2 separate regions of the Homo sapiens genome follow, and region 1 is linked to region 2. The links are contacts of gene promoters, found by promoter capture Hi-C in blood cells and fetal thymus (Javierre and others, 2016). All regions are on one chromosome and are shown on one strand. Each heading gives the region's core, a stretch centred on a gene start or on the middle of the fragment in contact. The rest is flanking DNA. Distances are from core to core; before and after follow the strand shown. Region 1 overlaps CHM (CHM Rab escort protein). Region 2 holds the start of CHM (CHM Rab escort protein).

Region 1 (4,941 bases), core at 2,432-4,931, 170 kb after region 2:
TTGTTAACTAATTCTGATACTCATTTTATCTTTACTTCTCTTCAGTATCTACTACTCAAATTCGTCCATTCTTAAATCAGCACAAGCTTTTACTTCCCATTGAGCATGGGGTAGAAATTTGTGAATTTTTAGTGTTGACTAATCAGGTTTGACTAATATTGTGGCACTTTATATTAAATATTATTTAATTACTGTGTCACAGTGGCGTATAATATATAAAACATTAAATCTTAATGTTTTAGATGTCATGTAATAAGATAAAATGTATAATTCTCAGTGTTTTCAACTTCTCAACCACTTTTTTCTTTATACAAATCACACTTTTTACACTTTTTATTTTTAATCCTGTGCTATGCAAATACTGTACTGTATGTAGTCTTAAGTGTGTGCTCAAGAATGTGCTTAAGACATAAAACTACCTCAGAGTTCACTTATACTTTTTATTCTCTTTAATGACTTTTCATAGATGTCACATTGCCTTAAATTTGGTTTGATTTAGAATTTGTAAAATCATACGTATGCCACTGAAGTTTACCTTCACATCATATGGGAATAGTATATATGAAAGGTTCTTGAAAGGCAAATAAATAGTTCAATAAACAAGGGAGGTACATTTCATTAACATACTACCTTATAGTGGTGGAGAACATAGGCTAAGTTCAAATCCCAGTTTTTACTAACTACTTGACTAACCTTAGGCAAGTTACTTAATTTCTATGTGCCTCAGCTTTCCTATCTGTGAAATAGGAATAATGATACTATCTGCCTCAGGACCGTTATTAGTATCAATGTTACTTAAGCTGATATTTTGATAGACTGATAGGAAATCATGATTATCCAGTAATGCAGGGGTTTTTCTAAGCAACTTTGGGTTAGCATCGTTATTGCATCTTTTTTTAAAGTAGTAAAGTTATGTTTTGTAAAATCTATAAGTCCACTTAAATTTTCCTCCCCTCAGCTAATTTGGTTCAAGTTACTGGGATTGTTAAATAACTGAAATGTATTTGTTTATTGTGTTTTTCAAAGCTAAACAAGCCATATTTTTTTTCACAGAGTTCATCTTTCAGGACATACCCAATATATTTATTTCTATTCATCTTATATCCTAAGTGAATTTAATATGAGATTTACTTTCTTTTAAAGTCATTTGTAAATGAACAAAACATTATCTTTGCAGCCCTTCCATTCGACATTCATTTTCATGTTCTTTGCAGTACTTACTCATACACTAGACATTTTGAATTTTTTTCGTACATACTAATCAGGCAATAACAGCTGTTTTATTCTGGGATTTGATGTTACAGGATGTTAGTTATCTGTGATATGATTATATATTTGTGAATATATAATGTGAAATATATATATGATGTATGTAATAATCCAGAATTTCATGTAGGTACTGGTTTATATACTTTTTCTGCTTTTGTGACCCTAGTTTTAAAATGCTATATACCTTTTATAAAAATGAGTTAGATATTGATTTAAAACAATTATCAGTGCCTTTTTCATTTGCTTTTTGAAAATGTGACATTTCAAATTATTATTGTTAGTATTATCACAAAACAAAGATTTGATTTTATTATATGTAAACTAATTTTTCTTCCTGATCTTAAGGTGATGTTCTGGAGTTCTTAAATTCTACTGAGAAAGTATAAGCCGACTATAGACTTTTTCATAGTTGAATTAAAAAATTAAATTGTGTGTCATATATCATCAAACTCAGTTCCTTACTTGCTACCATAGAGAAAGTGTGTCTCTGAGGTTCTCTGTTTTATTGATACAGTCATATCCTCATTTGTGCTATATTACATAAAGTACATGTGGCCTTTATAGTTATATGAAAGATATGTTACCAGCCACATTGATCTCTATGTAAATTAATTACATATTTCTAGTTAGGTTACACAACAAAGCCTACTTGCTGACTAGCCTATAAATAAAGATTCTTTAAATGCATTTGGAACAATTTTGCCTGCTTGTATAGAGTGAATGACTGCTGTATGTGGTAACCTCAGAAGCTTGAGGAATAGATTTCCTACCTTTTACAGCAAGCATTTACTTAGGTTTTACATTCACATTTGTAATGCCATCCGTTTTGATTTAAAATCTGTCATCATTGAAAGAATTGTAGCTGGTGAGTAAGGAATTAGCTTCGTAAATTTGAGACCGGAAGAGGTCTTAAAGATGGACTAATTGCACCCCTTCATTTTAATTATGAGGACACTGAAGCCAGAGAGAAAAACTGACTTGGCCAAGTAGATATAGAGAGCTGACGTAATACCAGACCCACGTAATCATCCTATAGTATGTCACTCTGCTACTGTACATTGGACTTGTTACTTTTAAATGTGCTCATTATTGTGCACATTCTGAGCAGAAATCCTACTTCTCATGTGTTTCAAAACAACTCGTAAGAGCGATCAGCATTCCAAAGGCAGTTTTGGAGAACTGAAAGTGTGTTGTTATTTCTAGTTTTGTGTTGTTACTTCTCACTTCTAAATTAAAACTTATTTTGCACTAAGATTTCTTTAATGCCAATACAAATCTAAGTGTATTGCCAAAAGAGGGATTGTGATAGAAAACACATTTTTTCATTAAGTCTTTGGCCATTTTTAGCTCATTAAGCCTTTAAGCAGTTGCTAAATGAAGTCAAAGGAGCATAGTTTATAAAAAGATATTAATTTTTTTTTTGTTCAGTTATCTCACATGGTGCCTGTGGGAAATGTTTCCACTTGTATTGCATCTTCCACAATCTTAGTGATAGTTGTCAATTGGTACTAATGAAACGTAATACTTTTAGGAAAGCATTTACCCTGTATGATCTAATTTGTGGTCGTTGTTGGCCTGTATTGAGCAAGTTCATTATTTGGAGAAGAATTAAAGTCACATAGATGCAAAGAAGTATTTTACATAATTGAATTTCAGTAGAAATGTGATAGCATGTTCTACATGTTTGGTTTTGAGTTTACCTTATACCCTTAAGGTCTTCAGACTTTTTGCTCATTTATCCCTTGAACCCTTTACAAGTTGACATACACAGTTTTTCATCAGAAGAGTCAAATAATTGCAAAGAATATAATTTCTAACATCGTAAATATTGACTTATAGTAAAATTATAACATCAGTCATTTAAATGTATTCAGTGGAATCTAAGTATCAGGGATATTTGATACCCATCACCCATTTAAAAAAATAAATGGAAATAGAATTTTTTTGAAACTTTCTAGGGCAATAAGCTTCTAATCTAAAACTTTCTTCTGGATTTAGTAATTAATGCAATTATTATTTCTACAGAATTAATCTAACTGTCATAAATATATTACAGTTTTGGTAAATAAATATTAAACAGAATAAGTAAAATTTCACTGAATGAAGTAGGAGAGGTGGAGCTGAGCATCTGTATGAGAACCCCCTTGTAGGTGATATAACTTGTGAAAAGTCCTCTTGTATCCTCACACACATCCCAGTTTGAATGCTGCTGACTTAAGTGACTGACTGTGCCTTCTGCAGGAGATTATTAGAATCACATAATATAATTTAGTGACTAAAGGCAGACACTCTGCAGGCAGGCCATATGGGCTTCAATTCGAGCTCTGAGTCCCAGCCCTTCCTTCTACTAATTGCATGACTTTAGGAAATCTGCATAGCCCCCCATCCCTGTTTTCTCATCTGTAAAATGAGAATAACAGTTTGCTGTTGCACAAGTAAAGTGAAATGATACTTGTAGCATGCTTAAAATAGTGTCTAACACATGCATGTTATTTGTACAGTCAACTCTAGATATTCTCTTAAATGTATTTTGAGAATTTTATAGATATATCTTAATGTGTTTATAAGCATTTCTCAGACAGATTTAAATAATTTGAGATTATCAATTGGTACTTCCCTTTCCTCTTTCCTGGTAAATCAGATAATTTCCCAAATTTTATACAAGAAACTAATCAGAATTTCCCCATGAATATGTACACATAGATCTATTGGTATGGGAATGCATATCTATTTAAACACAGGAATACTTGATGTTTGTCCGTGACAGTGAGACAAATTATAATTAACATTTATTGAATACCCACTCTAAGTAAAAGTTGTATTTAACAAAAAGGAGAAAAATCGACTCTAAAGCTTGCCCCTGCAAAGGACTTACAAGATATATTAAGATTAATAAACAAATGTTGAGAATCAATGAATTTTAAAAAGAGCACAATCAGCAATCTCTGATTTGAAGAGAACCAAAATGAATTCAGTAATCTATACTAGAAGGTGACCTAGGTAACAGGAAAAGCAGGAACGGTAAGGGGAAAAAGTAGTTATTCATACCTTAAATTTGTATTAATAGATCAATTAACAATGTAGCCTCTAAGCAAAGTCAATGTATAGGGATTATAATTCAGCTTATGAATGTCTTTGTAAGAATTGTTATAAAACTCATTAATCATGAGATGATAATCTTACTTCACTACTAGACATTTTTCCTAGCATAACCTGAACTGTCTGTTATGTTGCTAAGAAATATAATGATATACTAACTTAAGTGTATCTCTTTAAAATATATGTCCTGTTTAACAGAACCAATAGTTTACCCATTAAGATATTTTCCAAAATATACTTATTTATGTCCAGGTTCATCTGCTTTTTCCCAAATAAACATTAACAAACAAGCAAAAAACTGGAAAATTGAGAACTTTGGGCATTGGTATTTCACGAGATTTTGAAATAAGAGACAGGATAGATTATCTCCTATGGATTGCTGACCTTTGTAACTGCATACCCTGTTTACTTCAGTAATTATCTAGGAGGATTAAGTCTCATCCCAACTAATGCTATACAGCATTTGAAAAAAGTTAACCAAAATAATTTTTGTTATGAAGCTCATTATATCTTTGGAAATAATTAGTACCATACATCCTACAGTATCCCAGAACCAATGAGAATCATTGTTAA
Region 2 (4,573 bases), core at 1,164-3,663:
CTATCCTTAGGGGAAAAAAAGAAGGTTTCAAACTAAGGGCAGCACAGATTGGAAAATCTATGCTACAGAGTAATTACTTGTTTATTTTGTTTTACCCTACTAAATGTAAACTTCATGAAGACAGGGGTTGTTGTCTGTTTTGTTCATTGCTCTAATCTCAGCATCCAAAATAGTGTCTTGCACATAGTAGGTGCTGAATGAATATTTGAGGAATAAACAAATTAATGAATTGCATCTTCATGGTGTGATTGTCAGAAAATTTCTGAATCCCTAGAAGGTCAGTGATACTCATATTGAAAAGTATATGTATGTAGTTTATATATCTCGTATACATGAACAAATGTATATAAATATATATCCAAAGTATGGTAGAAATACTTTTATTTATCAGGTTTTTAACCATCCATCTGTGGCTTCTCATTATTAGAGAAGATTTTGGAAAGTTTTCTGTGTTTACTCTGAGAAATCCATTTGTTTCCATTTTCTACTGTCTTATCAAGAGTCTCACAAATAATATCTGTTTCACTTCTGATAATACTAAAAACTTGCTTTACATACCAAGGCAAATGACAAAGTGGTTTACTGAACAGTACATTATACTTCTCAGGGGAATCTGTTTTACAGAAAATACTAATCAAAGACCATATCTTAAGAGAGTTGTGTAATACAACTGGATGATCTATAAAAGAAAGTAATGAAACATGTACAATGTTGCTAATGATTATGGTAAAATGCAAGAGAAATGCAGTAAAAAGCGTATCAAAATACATTTTAAAGCATTTTCATGTAAATATTTACAATTAATGGACACTGAACATCTTCTAAATATAAGACACATGATAGTGGTGGGCAGATATAAAGGCAAAGATGGTAAGCACTATGAGGACAGGGACTCGTCTCATCCATCTATTAGGGGAGTCAAAATCAAGTTTGGTTTAGCAAACATTTATTAAATTCCTACTATGCACCGGGCTTAGGTTAGGTGCAGGAGTGAAAAAGATAAATGAGACTTGGTGTCTGTCATGCTGTACAGGGGTTTATAATTATGGTATTGCATGTCTGGGTGTGTATTTTTGTGTGGATATATGGGGATATGTGTACTCTATAGGAATCGTCATAAATGCAGTATGGCGGGTTAAGACAAAGTCTAGCACCATGTAGGGAAACAGCCCACACACGGAGACGAAAGGAGGAGGAGGTGGAAGCCCAGCGACATCCTGGGAATAACTGTTAGCTAGAGAATGGGAAGATCATTCCATGCTGAAAGAACAGCATGAGCGTGGTCAGAGACTGGAAAGAAAACAATGTCTGGGGAACCACAAGCATCTTAGCGGATAGGTGGTGTCAGGGAAGGCCCACTACTGCACATTATCTTTGATTTATTTTGAAACTCTTGTAAAATAACTACACAAGAAATTTCTGTCGTCAAAAAAGTATCCTCCTTCATTCCCAGCATCCTTCCCCTTTTGCTTTGGTGTTGTCAGACAGCGGAGTATTAAATAATCGGGGGCAGGGTGGGGGGCGGTTGGAGGGAAGCGGTGGGAGGCGACAGACCTTGAAGATACTTATGAGAGCTATGTTAGCTGTTAGACATAGACGACCTAAAGCCCCTCATCAGATACAATCACTTTAATATAAAGACCATTTTACCTTAATTATTTCTACGGTAGCTTATGGAAACTAATAGATTGGAAACTAAATGTAAACTAAGGAGAATCTTACATGAACTTATCTAGTTGGTGCGGAAAATCGAATTCAGACTCAACAGACGCTTATCCAGCGCAACCATGCTTTCATATATTTTTTCCCTCCTGTAAAGCAAGGCTAATTTATTGCCCGAGTGGCTGTCTGGACTAACTGGAACAAATACGGACGCGGTGGGAGTTCCATTCTGGCGAAACTAGGGTGAGAGGTTTTTTGTGGGTTTTCATCGAGGAGACATGGAAACGAAAAAGATATGGAATATATTCTGAAAGTATTGGTGTGAAAAACCATGCCTCGAGGGCCAACACGAAAGTACAGAAACGATGGCGGGAAACAGTTTTTTAGGCTGGAATGAAAGTCTCCTTTGTTCACAGAGCAAACCGCCTTCAATTTCACTCCGCTCTCCGTGTCTCCTAACAATTTTGCTTCAGTATTGTCAAGGGGTATCCAAGTCTCCCACATTCATCCTAGCTAACGGAATAAAAATCTACATTTCTTTCCTACTTCAACCCTCCAGGCTAAATGAGCTACAGCATTCAGCCTGGAAAATGAGTCGAGCTTTTAACTTACGTGTAAACATTTTAAATATAATACTGTAGTCGCCTGCCTGGACCTTCCACCCAAGAACTACAACACCCAGAATGCACTGTTTTCTTTTCCGCCTTCCACGGAGGGAATGCCTAACTTGATCTCATTTCCACAAGTAATAGTCACATGACACGTTTCCCGTCAAGATGGCGGATACTCTCCCTTCGGAGTTTGATGTGATCGTAATAGGGACGGGTATGTGTAGCCTGGTGCTTCCTGGACAAAGTTTAGGAAGACTGTCTTGTTTCTGTTTTTTCTGTCAGTGGCGAGTTTTGGGACAAACATCGTGGGTCGAGAGTGGGAGGGAGAACTGAAAGGAAGTGAGGTAGTCCGGAGTCAGCGCGGGAGTTGGCAGTTACAGGGAGGGGCTGGGACCCGCAGTGCTTATCGCCATTTGAGTAGGGGTTGATCTGGTCGATGCTGATTGCTGAGGTTGGTTGCTGCGGTGATTCCTGTTAATTTCCTTAGAGGGAAGTGGATGTGCAGTGTCATGAAATGGAGGGTCGGGATTTTATCAACGGAGACGACTTTGGCAAGACATTATGATTCCTTCCTTATTGATTTCAAGGTGATATTCCCCATCATTTTGTCTCGCCATTTCATAGGACTTTTTCATAGATTTGTATGATCTTAGCATACATCGCAGCTCAGACACAGCTTAATCCTCAGTTTTACAAGAAAGATGCTCAATTATTGCCCATGTGCGTATGAATTTACTAGGGAAAGTAAACGGATTCTATTTTGTTGAGAAACCTAGGGAATTTTATTTTGTTGAGGTAGCCATTATTCCTGCTTTATGGTGCTTAAAGCATCTTGCTTTCTACCATCAATAACTAAATGTGCTGAGAATAAGGTCCTGAGTTCCAGTTCAGGTGTGTGACCTTATCTAACTCTTGTTTTCCCGTCGTTTGTTCTTCATGTTTTGGGTGGAACCAGAAACTCCTCTGCAGTTTCTAGTTGACATATTCAGTGTACAACACGTAGCAGAACACATATGGCAGCAATTTCAATTTTTTTTAATAGTGTAAGGGATGATCATTTTAGATGGAATGAAATAGGTTGTTTGATGGGGTTTTTTACTGTTTGTAGAATGTGGTAGGCCAGAGAAGCTCTGGTGGATGGGACCCTGTCCATTGTGTTAATGAATTCAGTTCGTTGTCTTCTCATACAGCCATGATTAGGAGCAGCCATGTTTTCAGGTTGGGAGTAAAAATAATAGCTACCTGTTTTCGAATGCTTAAAATTTCCTAATCACTGTGCTAAGCACTTTACAAGCCGAACATAATCCTCACAACCTTGTTAGAGTAGTAGGTACTCTCTGCATTTTGTAGAAGAGGAAAAGGGGACTTGGAAAAGTTGTAATTTGCTCAGGATCACACAGCTGGTAAATTTCCAAAGGCCCATTCCATCCCAGGAAAACAGTCAGTGGTTCTGATCCTCAGAGTTGACCCATATTCGTAGAAACAATTGAGAAAACTTGGTTTTAGGTCTTGCTTAGTGCTAGTATGAATTGCTTGAATTGGGAGGGCCAGGCACTAAATCTCTCTGAGCCTCAGTTTCCTTGTTTTTGAATATAAGGAAGGTAAAATAGATGGTCTTTATGTTGTCTAACAAAAAATGCCTGGGTAACAGTTCTCAGAACAGCATGGACAGGTTTATTCTTAGCCTGAAAATAACTGCATGGCTGCAAATAACCTGGTTGTAGCTGCTATGAACAGATGTTGGATGAGAGCTGGAAAGAGCCAATGGACTATTCATTTTTTCTTTTAAGTCTATACTAAAACTGAGAACAGCATCCATTTTGGAATAGTTGTTATACCATACTTGAGTTTTATAATCTTGCTTTTTTTGTGTAGGAACTTGAGGTGTTTTTAACAATTTTTTTAATCAACAATTTTTTTTTTCAGGTCTGGGTTCAAATTTTAATTGATGAATGTTAATTCTTATGAATGATGCTAATGTTTTTCATAAATATTTTGCCTTCTGTACAGTTCAGAATTGGAAGACATCCATCCTGATGGAGTCTGTTATGGTAGAGGTAGGAAGTTACAGTGAGTGAGCCAGAGAATTGCATCAGGTGACATCGCTTATATTTGGAAAAATACTCATTTTATACTTATCCCAGTGAGTGCAATGTTATTTTTCAGTGTTTGGGAAGAACTTATTTGAAGTTAATCTTAAAACTTAAATTTTTCATATTGTTTATTGGTGACACATTCTAGGTTTTATCAAGCACATTGCTTAAATTTATGATATGTAATTTTGCTTTTAGGTACATCAA

What was found. The method cuts DNA at HindIII sites, captures the fragments that hold promoters and counts their contacts. A CHiCAGO score of 5 or more calls a contact.
Region 1: a fragment that was not itself captured here is called in contact with the fragment with the promoter of CHM in region 2 in 1 of 17 cell types (non-activated CD4 T cells); the score reaches 5.9 in non-activated CD4 T cells.

Annotation. Positions count from the first base shown.
Region 1 is chrX:85,880,225-85,885,165 of GRCh38, reverse strand. All of the region lies in intron 12 of CHM (CHM Rab escort protein), which reads left to right. Among named protein-coding and RNA genes, the nearest start is that of MIR361, 21 kb to the left of the region's middle. The HindIII fragment of the contact is 886 bases long and covers 3,239-4,124 here.
Region 2 is chrX:86,045,398-86,049,970 of GRCh38, reverse strand. It overlaps CHM (CHM Rab escort protein), which reads left to right and starts at 2,413. Exons shown (of 15, transcript NM_000390.4): 1 at 2,413-2,487. The coding sequence starts at 2,439. The HindIII fragment of the contact is 19,030 bases long and covers 1-4,573 here.